Linked DNA regions of Homo sapiens: regions 1 and 3 are each linked to region 2. The links are contacts of gene promoters, found by promoter capture Hi-C in blood cells and fetal thymus (Javierre and others, 2016). All regions are on one chromosome and are shown on one strand. Each heading gives the region's core, a stretch centred on a gene start or on the middle of the fragment in contact. The rest is flanking DNA. Distances are from core to core; before and after follow the strand shown.

The links. Contacts are between HindIII fragments. The CHiCAGO score rates a contact against its expected background, and 5 or more counts as called.
Region 1: the fragment with the promoter of MAML3 here is called in contact with the fragment with the promoter of TMEM184C in region 2 in 1 of 17 cell types (total CD4 T cells); the score reaches 7.3 in total CD4 T cells.
Region 3: the fragment with the promoter of PLRG1 here is called in contact with the fragment with the promoter of TMEM184C in region 2 in 4 of 17 cell types (total CD4 T cells, total B cells, fetal thymus and 1 more); the score reaches 7.0 in total CD4 T cells.

What each region holds. Positions count from the first base shown.
Region 1 is chr4:140,152,667-140,155,817 of GRCh38, reverse strand. It overlaps MAML3 (mastermind like transcriptional coactivator 3), which reads left to right and starts at 1,634. Exons shown (of 5, transcript NM_018717.5): 1 at 1,634-2,958. The coding sequence starts at 2,491. The HindIII fragment of the contact is 806 bases long and covers 1,178-1,983 here.
Region 2 is chr4:147,615,634-147,619,046 of GRCh38, reverse strand. It overlaps TMEM184C (transmembrane protein 184C), which reads right to left and starts at 1,650. Exons shown (of 10, transcript NM_018241.3): 1 at 968-1,650. The coding sequence starts at 1,090. It overlaps TMEM184C-DT (TMEM184C divergent transcript), which reads left to right and starts at 1,802. Exons shown (of 2, transcript NR_186679.1): 1 at 1,802-1,959. RefSeq lists enhancers at 1,231-1,280, 1,311-1,430. The HindIII fragment of the contact is 5,941 bases long and covers 1-1,956 here.
Region 3 is chr4:154,548,451-154,551,856 of GRCh38, reverse strand. It overlaps PLRG1 (pleiotropic regulator 1), which reads left to right and starts at 1,457. Exons shown (of 15, transcript NM_002669.4): 1 at 1,457-1,557; 2 at 2,922-3,028. The coding sequence starts at 1,549. RefSeq lists enhancers at 1,124-1,283, 1,304-1,353. The HindIII fragment of the contact is 1,608 bases long and covers 1,214-2,821 here.

The sequences.
Region 1 (3,151 bases), core at 385-2,884, 7.5 Mb after region 2:
GAAGAAGGGCAGTTTGATACAGAAATTTGTATATTAACTAAATAGCCTTCAGAAAAAGTGTGGCAACTTCAATGAAATATACACTCTCTTAAGTTGGTTTTACTGCTTAGAAGTAGCCTCACACCGTATTAAATATTTTGCTGCCCATTTTGCCATATATCCAGTGAATATTAAAAATATCGTTCACTATATAGAACTGATTAATTGAAGAAAAATATAGCTTCTTATCGCTGACATTATGAGGTTAGAAATAGCATCCTGTGCTAATCTGCAATGCCAAGAAATGAAGATGGTTTAAATCAGATCTCATGACTAATGCATAAGATCCAAAGTTCTTTTATTCCTGGCTATTTTAGAAAACTGGGGTGTATTTTTACCCTAAAAACTAATTCTTAAGATTTATTGAAATAATACAAAATGACTTATAATTAACATCTCACAATCAAGATTTATAGTTTACTGATTATTAGAGAAATAATAATTTCTCCATCTTAATTTTTAAAAATATGTATATGCAATGGTTTAAGTCCATATTCAAGAATATTTGATCCTTAGTTGTTATTTTTGTTTTTAGATAATATCGGGAAAGATAATGTGCTTTAATAAAATGGAAAGTTTAGATTGATTTCTGCAGTTGCTAGTCCATTTTAATTGTACTTATTGTGAATTCATTGAAATGGAAAGAAATATATCCAGCAATAAAGTAGGCCTGTTATTTTTGCTTGTTTTTGTTTTGGTCATGACAAACTGTGAAATGCTGTGTTTTTTCTATAGTTCTAGTCTATGAAATCTGCAATCTTTCCACTTGATTTACGAAGGACCTTAATTACTGCTGTCATTAGCACCTAGTGTTCAAAACAGTCTGTTTAAATGTACTGTTAGTCTCACCTCCAAGTCCCTGCTTGCTTTATTTTTTTCCAAGGGTAAGTAAAACAATAATTGACTTAGTAACAACAATCATTATGTACAGTGAGTTAAATATTACACATTTTTGATGCCTATTTCTATTTATTTAGAATTTGGTATTTGTGTGTTCAGTCTGGCCTAGACTTGGAACAAGTGTCCGTAAGTAGCGCTGTTACTAGCGCAGACTTATTACCTGGGTTTTAAAAACAAGTCACTCATTTGCCTTTTTCTTTCCACATGGATAGGGATGACAGACAACTGCTGTAAAGCTTCAATGTTTCTGCCTGGTCATGCACAGTTCTGCAATATAATGCATAAATGTATAACAACAACTTGGGATCGCTTGATACTTTCCTTGGAATAAGGAAACCCTACCAGGCGCGTCCCCGCGCACGCGCGCGCGCATACACAGACACACACACTCACACACGCTCTCACGCACACACACAGGTCAAAAGTTGATTTATTTCTGAGATCCCCCCAGAATCTTTCTTCTCTCCGTCGCCGACGGCTCTGGGCTTCTCGGCGGGGCGGTAGTGTGGTTGGGGGCGTAGGAGGGGCGCCGGGCGCCGAGGCGACGGAGACGGGAGCCGGGTGCTGGTGCGTGCCGCGCCCGCTCCTGCCGGGTGAGAGTCCGGGCCGGGTTTTGCGCCGTGTCCGCGGGCCTGTCTCACGGCCTCCAGCCGCCGCCGCTGCCGTGTTTACTGAGCTCGCGCGTCCTGATATCACTCCGCTGGCATGGAGGAGGAGGAGGAGGTGGAGGAGCGAGAGGAGGAGGAGGAGGCGGCGGCGGCGGCGGCGGCGAGCAGTTGATCATTGTGATGGTGGCAGGAGCAGCGGCGGCAGCGGCAGCCCAGCCGAGCGTTAGGTGCTGCTCTCTGCGCGGCGTTTTGCAAAGGACTTCACCGATCTACTTTTGCAGTCGCCTCGGACTGTCCATGTGTTTACTTCCCCCAGCCCGAGGATTCGATATCTAGGTTCCTGTGAAATGCAACTGAGCAGCCAAAGTACTTTGAGAACACGGGGCGGCATAAACACCAAAACTTTTTTGTGGAAGGAAAATGCAATAAGCAAGCTTGCCGTTTTCCGATGCGGTGTGGAGTGAGTGTGTGTCGCGCGTGTCCGCACTGGAGGCATATGCTTGTGTGTGTACATGGGGTGTGTTTTTCGGTATGTAGGGAGAAAATGCTTGCCAACCACCGGAAATCTCCTGGAATTTATTAGAAAATAATGGATTATAAAAAGAAGGCAAGCAAGGAGCGGATCTCCCCTTGAGTTGCAACCCGATTTGCTGCTGGCTCAGTTTGTTGTGATTCTTTTTGTTGATAGGTGTCTGATGGTATTCCGATAACGTTCCCCCCTTTTCTTCCCCTTGAGCTTTTACAGTTTAAAAAAAGGAAACAAAAACCACCCCAAAATCTCCCCCCCCGTTTTTTTCGCCCCGTCGGGATCGCCGTTTCCATCCATGTGCTTGCGTCTCCCCCGCGTTCCACTTAAACTATTTTAATCCTTGGACCCAAGGAGGAGGCTGATAGGGGGGTGGATAAAAAAAGTTCTTCCAAAATAGTGTGCCCGGGGAGCAGGATGGGGGATTTCGCAGCCCCCGCTGCTGCCGCGAATGGCAGTAGTATTTGCATCAACAGTAGCCTGAACAGCAGCCTCGGCGGGGCCGGGATCGGTGTGAATAATACTCCCAATAGTACTCCCGCTGCTCCGAGTAGCAATCACCCGGCAGCCGGTGGATGCGGCGGCTCCGGGGGCCCCGGCGGCGGTTCGGCGGCCGTTCCCAAGCACAGCACCGTGGTGGAGCGGCTCCGCCAGCGCATCGAGGGCTGCCGTCGGCACCACGTCAACTGCGAGAACAGGTACCAGCAGGCTCAGGTGGAGCAGCTGGAGCTGGAGCGCCGGGACACCGTGAGCCTCTACCAGCGGACCCTGGAGCAGAGGGCCAAGAAATCGGGCGCCGGCACCGGCAAACAGCAGCACCCGAGCAAACCCCAGCAAGATGCGGAGGCTGCCTCGGCGGAGCAGAGGAACCACACGCTGATCATGGTGAGGGCGCACGGGCAGCGGGCTTGCGGCGCGCGTTGGGGGTGGTGGTGGTGGTGGGGGGCGCGTGGAGCTTCTTACATGGGGGTACAAGGGTCTGATTTGCACGGTGGGTGAGGTGGGCTGAAGCCTAAGGGTTAACGTCAACTTTTCTTAGGGAAAAAGCTGCCGTCGTCGCTACCTGTTAATCTGTCAG
Region 2 (3,413 bases), core at 401-2,900:
AAATACAAAATTAGCCGGGCGTGATGGCGCATGCCTGTAATCTCAGCTACTCGGGAGGCTGAGGCAGGAGAATCGCTTGAACCCAGGAGGCGGAGGTTGCGGTGAGCCGAGATCTCGCCATTGCACTCCAGCCTGGGCAACAGGAGCAAAACTCCGTCTCATAAACAAACAAACAAAAAACTATATGGACTATGCTAGTATGGGAAAGTCATCAGAAAATAATTTAGTGTAAATAGAGAACACAAATGTATATTAAATACAGTTTATGTAAAAATCATTTCCACAATAAAGAAGGGCCTAAAATAGTCATGGTCTTATTATAGTTCTTGTAATAGGTGTTCCTCTGTAAAAGTACTTGGTGGGTTTTATTAACTCCGAATTTAAAGTTCATTATATAATATTTATATCTGAGTTATTTACCTTGGGGTTTTCCAGCTTGTAGTACATTACTGATGTCACAATAAGCATATGACATCAAAAAATATATATAAGGGACTTTTTGCAAAACCTTTGTTGGGTAAGAGCTAATTTCCACAGTAAAAACAGACACCAAAGTTAAAACAACTAGAACGCTTTGATTCAAGAAGCTAGTTAAAAGCTAATAAAATTCAATACATGGTTTTCAAGGTAGTTTATTTGACCTAGTTTCGTCCAATGTCTGAACAGATCAGATTTCAGCAATAAAATTACCTTACTTTCAGGGAACTGATGAATACTTGCAAAACAGTGCCCTTCTAAGCAGCTATATTAATATATTCTATTTTCTCGACCCGGTCCCACCTCCACCTGTAGCATGACTTGAAGAACCGTGAACAAGAAATTAGACAGGTTTATATCCTAAGAGTAGGCTCGTTTACATTAGATGGTTTTCAGGACTGTCAGGGCAGAAATGGGGTAAGGGTGTCTCTTTCCCAACCATAGATGGGTAGAAGAAAGTGTACAGGCTGATGGTGCAGAACCCTCTTACCTCCAGTTTCTGTAATTCCCACACGCATAGGGGAACCGCAACCACTATTGACACCAGGTAGATGACCGCTACTAAAGGTCGAATCCACTGTCTCCAGTTCCTCCAGGTACAAGTGCAAGGCATGTTTTCGCACAAATCAGATCCGGTTAGCAAGGGAAAAGATCTCGAAAAGATTGTAATGGGGAGCCCTGTTCTCTGGCTGTTTTGTCAACTCGCATACTACGGAGAAAAAGCTGTCGGGCGACTTTACGAACAGCTCGAGCCGCCTCCTGGACCGGCGCTGTGTCTTCTGCTGCTGCTGCTTCTGCAAATGTAGCCTCTCAGGGTGCTATTGGCGAGCAGTGCAGGCAACATCCTTTCTTCTCCACCCCGCATCTACCCGGTTGTACTGCGGTGGAATCCCAGGCAGAGCCGCTGCCCTCACCTGGGGATCGCCCTGAGCTCTGCCTGTACCATGGCTTCCAGGAGAGCAGCACAGACCAGGAACCGGCCTCTAGGGACCCTGCACACTCCGGTTCTGTCTCGCAGCTGCCTGCCCACTCGCTCTTTTCTTTGGGGATCGAGCTTCCTACCTCCCGCACTGGCAGGCGTCTCTTCAGTCGATTCCGCTAGTAGGTAAGGCCCCAGGATCTCCTCATTCTTTCGCACGGGACCTCCCCTACAGCGGAACCCAAGGCCAAACCAAGACTTTCAGCTCTTTTCCGCTTCCGCCCCTGCTGTCTGAGGCAGGTGATTCGTCGTCAGCGCCAAACTGGGCCCGCCCCATCCGACTCACTTTGCGCCCTCTGATTGGTCAGCTGTGGGGGCGGGGCTGCAGGATTGCGTACTGGGGTTAGAAAGAAGAGCAGGTGCGTGGAAGTGGGTGGAATTGCCGCAGATGGTCCAGCGGGCTATTGCAAGGATTCTGGAAGCTGCGGGAATTATTTGAGGACACTTGAAGCACACCTACTACATTCTTCTGCTGGCGTTATTCCAGTTTAAAGAAAGCTTGGGTAAGGGGCGGTTACTTCAGAGTTGGACTGGAAGAGAGAAGGCCCATCTCTACACAAAACATCCCCTATTCAATCTAGAGTGGATACAGAAGCCCGCTGGAGTAAGAAGACAAGGAAGAATGGGAAACCTCCACCTAGTTTTCTGTCAGTTGCTAGAATCTAGGGGCTAGGCCGCTTGGTTATTTCTGGATCCTACAGAAGGATCATTCTAAAGGTAGCTTCATTTTAGAATTAACCGCAAATAGGGAATGTCCCTTCTACATTTGGAACTTGTGTTAAAAATTTGCACTCATTTAAGTTTTAAAAAGTTGACATTCCATCTGACAAAGGAGTTTCATATGCTTAAAGCCTTTAGCTAAACCAATAGAGTAAACAAATATCTACTACTCAATTACATATACAAATGCGTTTTATATTGTAATTGTAATTTTCAGGGGGACAGGCACTGTACTAAGTTCATTACCTACATTATGTAAGTTGTTCTGCACAAAAATTTTGAGAGGTAGGCATTTTTCCACTTTACAGATAAAAAAGTCAAGTGGCTGATAAATTTGCCCAGGCTCACTGAGCTAGTTAAGTGGTAGTGTGGAGATAGCAACCTTGGTCTTTGTGACTCCAAAGGGCATTATATTTAAGCATTTGACCTGCTAGTACCTGCCACCTGGGGAATTTCCGCCTAATGACCATACGGATAAGGAGGCTTGTAACATTGAGTACACCTAGCCCAGGAGTCTCACAGAGACACCTAAGGAATATTATGAGCCCCTTTTTTGGTATCGTCTGTTTGGACTTGACTTCACTGCCTACTTCTCAGTTGTTAACATTTGTATTTTACAACCTGACCCAAACTACTTTCTACCGGAAAAATAGGCCTTATGTTTGTTCTTCCTAAGCTTACTTTAAAAATGGAAATTAAGGCTGGGTGCAGGGGCTCATGCCTGTAATCCCAGCAGTTTGGGAGGCGGAGGTGGGCGGATCATGAGGTCAGGAAATCGAGACTATCCTGGCTAACACAGTGAAACTCCGTCTCTACCAAAAATACAAAAAATTAGCCAGTTGTGGTGGCGGGAGCCTGTAGTCCCAGGTACTCAGGAGGCTGAGGCAGGAGAATGGCGTGAACCCGGGAGGCGGAGCTTGCAGTGAGCCGAGATCAAGCCACTGCACTCCAGCCTGGGCGACAGAGCGAGACTCTGTCTCAAAAAATAAATAAATAAATAAATAAATAAAATTAATTAAAAAAAATTCCTGATCATTAAATTAATGCTTGCTCTGTTGTTAAAGTTCATAAAAAAGAAGAATAATGAAGAGAAAGTTAATTTTACTCTACGGCCAAGTATAACTACTCTTTACTTGTTTGGTACACAGTAGAGGCTATCTTGGATATGCCGTATGCGTAGATTGTCTCTGTGCTTTCAGCTACAGCGTTTTTGCTGCCTATAATCTTTCCCATTCTT
Region 3 (3,406 bases), core at 208-2,707, 6.9 Mb before region 2:
AATCATGTTATTTTCTATAGTTATTATTAATAGGTGAGTATATTATTTAGTTCATCAAGTATATATTTTACAATTATGGTATTTTCTTGCAAGGAAATACCATCACCTGCCACCTTTACAGAAAAGCAATTCTTAGGCCAAACTCACAGTTAAATTCAGAGATGCTGTATCTTCAAGTAAAAACATGACCTTAAGGCAGGGCTCAGTGGCTCATGCCTGTAATCCTAGCACTTTGGGAGGCCGAGGCGGGCGGATCACCTGAGGTCAGGAGTTCAAGACCAGCCTGGCCAACATGGTGAAACGCTGTCTCTACTAAAAATACAAAAATTAGCCGGGCATGGTGGCGGGCGCCTGTAATCCCAGCTACTCCAGAGGCTGAGGCAGGAGAATAGCTTGAACCTGGGATGCTGAGGTTGCAGTGAGCCAAGATCGCGCCATGGCACTCCAGCCTGGGCGACAAGAGCGAAACTCTGTCTCAAACAAAAACCCATGACCTTAATGTTTTTAATGAATTTCCAAGTAAGGTTGATTTATATTGCTATTCTTTTGCTAGATTTTTTCCCCCTCTCAAAGTGTAAGCAGTATGCTCTCAGGACAGGATTAGTGAAACTGAAACAGGGCCAGTAAAATGTTTGTCTATTTAAGTTTGTAAATGCCTAAGTCCATCCATTTTTTTTTTTACATAGAAAAATAATTGGGTAGGGTTGATCACAAACCACAGATTTTACCAGGGTAGAAAGCAAAAATACCAATACTTGGCACAAGGATATGTATAAATAAAAATGGCTAAAGTCTCCAATTGTGTCTTCTACCAGCTTTGAAAAGCTGTACCCTGGCATTGTTGAAGCCACAATAATCAGCAGGCAACTAGGAAATGGACAAGAGCTATGCAGTTTTGAGAAATTAAAAAAAAAAATCTATTAGCAGAAAATAAATATGGGGTTTTGTTATAACTACATGTCAAAATTTTCCAAATTAAAACAGCTATTCCTCAACGTTCACTTAACAAGTGTTTACTGGACTGTTTAAGCGAAATTGTTTTCAGGTGTTAAGCCTACAAGTGTCCAAGTGCTTCTCGCCAGGATTAGAACCAGGAGACACAAAGCACGCAGGCGACCTCCAAAGAGATCAAGGTAGTGGAAATGCCTTAGATAGAGCCCACGGGAGTTTGCTCTCCAGACGCTTAGGTTCTCTGAATAAAAAGCGTTAAGCTTCCGGGGAATACAGCACGAACAACCAGGACCCCAACTAAGGCAGAAAACATAATTCTAAGATTTCTTCAGAGGGACGAGTGAAACCCTCCACCCAGGCCCTTCCAGGAGTCTCCGGCTTTCAGCCTCGAGACTCCGCCCTAGAGGCGGTCCCGAGGAGGGAGACCCGCCTCCTGATCCTAGATGGCCGAGGGAGACTAGCGCGCGTGCGCAGAGCTTGCATCACATCCGCCGCCTGGGCGCCCAATTCCGGAAGGTGCTGCACAGCTGTGGCGGCGGGTACTGCGTTAGTGATTAGAGTTTCTTCCCTGCCGGAGGTGGGATACACGGTAGCATCATGGTCGAGGTAAAGTGACACTGGGGCTCTCAAGAGTCGTTTGTCTCTGGACTGTTTTTTTTGGCAGTGCGCGTGGGGGATTGAGAGTACTTGGAGTCCAGAGAGAAAAGAGGCTACGAGGGGAGCTATTTGGCCAAGGCCGAGTGGTCTCTTCTTCGGGTTTTCGGGGAAGGGGTAGAAGCCGGATGAGAACCCGAGTCGGAGGTTCAGCCTGGGCGCGAAGCCTGAGATAATTCGTCCAGTCCTCGTTTGACTCTTGGGAGCTGGAAAGTGTCCTCGGAGGCGGGGCCTCTGTTGGTGATCGACCACTGGTACTTGCCGCCCTCGGGGCAGTGTCAGTGAGTCTGTGCCCTAAAAGATTGGTAGTCTTCTCTATCTTGCGTTCAGGTCGTCTCTTATTTCACCTCTACCCCCAGAAAAACTTGCCGTTCTTTACATCTTTCCCTGGCATGAACAGCCAACGCTGTTAGCTGGTCTTGTCCATCTTACCCCACATGTTTATTGATTCCATTCACTCTTCTCCATATCCGCTGCAGTCCACCTTAATTGAGACCAACATCATCTTTCACCTGGACTGGTGCATTAGCTCCCCGTTGGTTGGTTTCCTTGCTTCCATTTTGTTCTATAAGTTGTTCTGTTTAAAACGTAAGTTGTTCATACCTTTCTTGTTTAAAACCCTTTACTGACCCTATGTTGCTAGAACAAAATATAGGCTGTTGTAATAGTCTAAAAGACCTTACCTAATCTGGACCTTGTCTACCCTTGCAGCTACAAAGCACCATCTCATCCTCCATACACAGCTGTACTGCGCTCCTTGTATTATTTCAGTTAACTGAACTTTTTTTTACATGACATTTCCATCAGCCTGGTTCGTTCTTACCTCTGTTTTGTGCAAGGCTAACTCCCTTTCTGCTTAAATATCACCTTAGTGAAATCTTTCACAATTATACTTAGTCCTTCATTCCCTGACTCAGCGCCTTGCTTGTTGCCTTCATAGCACTTATCAAAATGTGGAATTATTTTACTTTTTATTTGTCTGTTTCCTCTTGAGCACAGGGACCATGACCACCTTTTTATCATTCTATTGTGAGATTCTAGCACAATACCTGCCAGACACACAGTAGGAGCTCAGTAAATATTTATTGAGTAAGTTAAACTCCGGCATCACTCAGTTGCTAAACCTGAGGTTCTAGCCAAAGAGGAGCTTCCTCCTCTTCTCTGAACTTGACTCCTGTAGCTTGCAACAAGTAGCTATGGTGAGTGGTATAAAGCTTTTTACATATTTAAACACGTGAAGTGTATAATCAATCTGACTTTAGGTTATGATTTGTGTAATTTGTAGATAGGTGTGTAATTACATTCTTTTTTTTTAGGAGGTACAGAAACATTCTGTACACACCCTTGTGTTCAGGTCGTTGAAGAGGACCCATGACATGTTTGTAGCTGATAATGGAAAACCTGTGCCTTTAGATGAAGAGAGGTTGGTGTAGTTTTTTTTTTTCAATTGCTAAAATACTTAACATTCTAATACTAGGGGAAGAGAGCAGGGAGAGGGAGTCCTTTAAAGATAAGCTAGTCATGGGCTAATTATTCAATAATGAGTGGTGTTTTGGCATAATTTAAGCTGATTTAACTTTTTTTTTTGGCCTTTTACAGTAAAAGTTCCATTAATTAATTGCATTTTACAAATACCCAGTAATTAAGAGAGTCCCTTTTAGGTATTTTATTTTATAATCAATCACTTTGTATGTGCTTTCAGCTTCCCGCTGCTCTCAGAGCCTTGCTGAGCTGAAATTGTACCTGGCTAGTACCTCTACTCCCATCTTTTCTCGTTAGTATGATGAAGATTTTTGAGTGG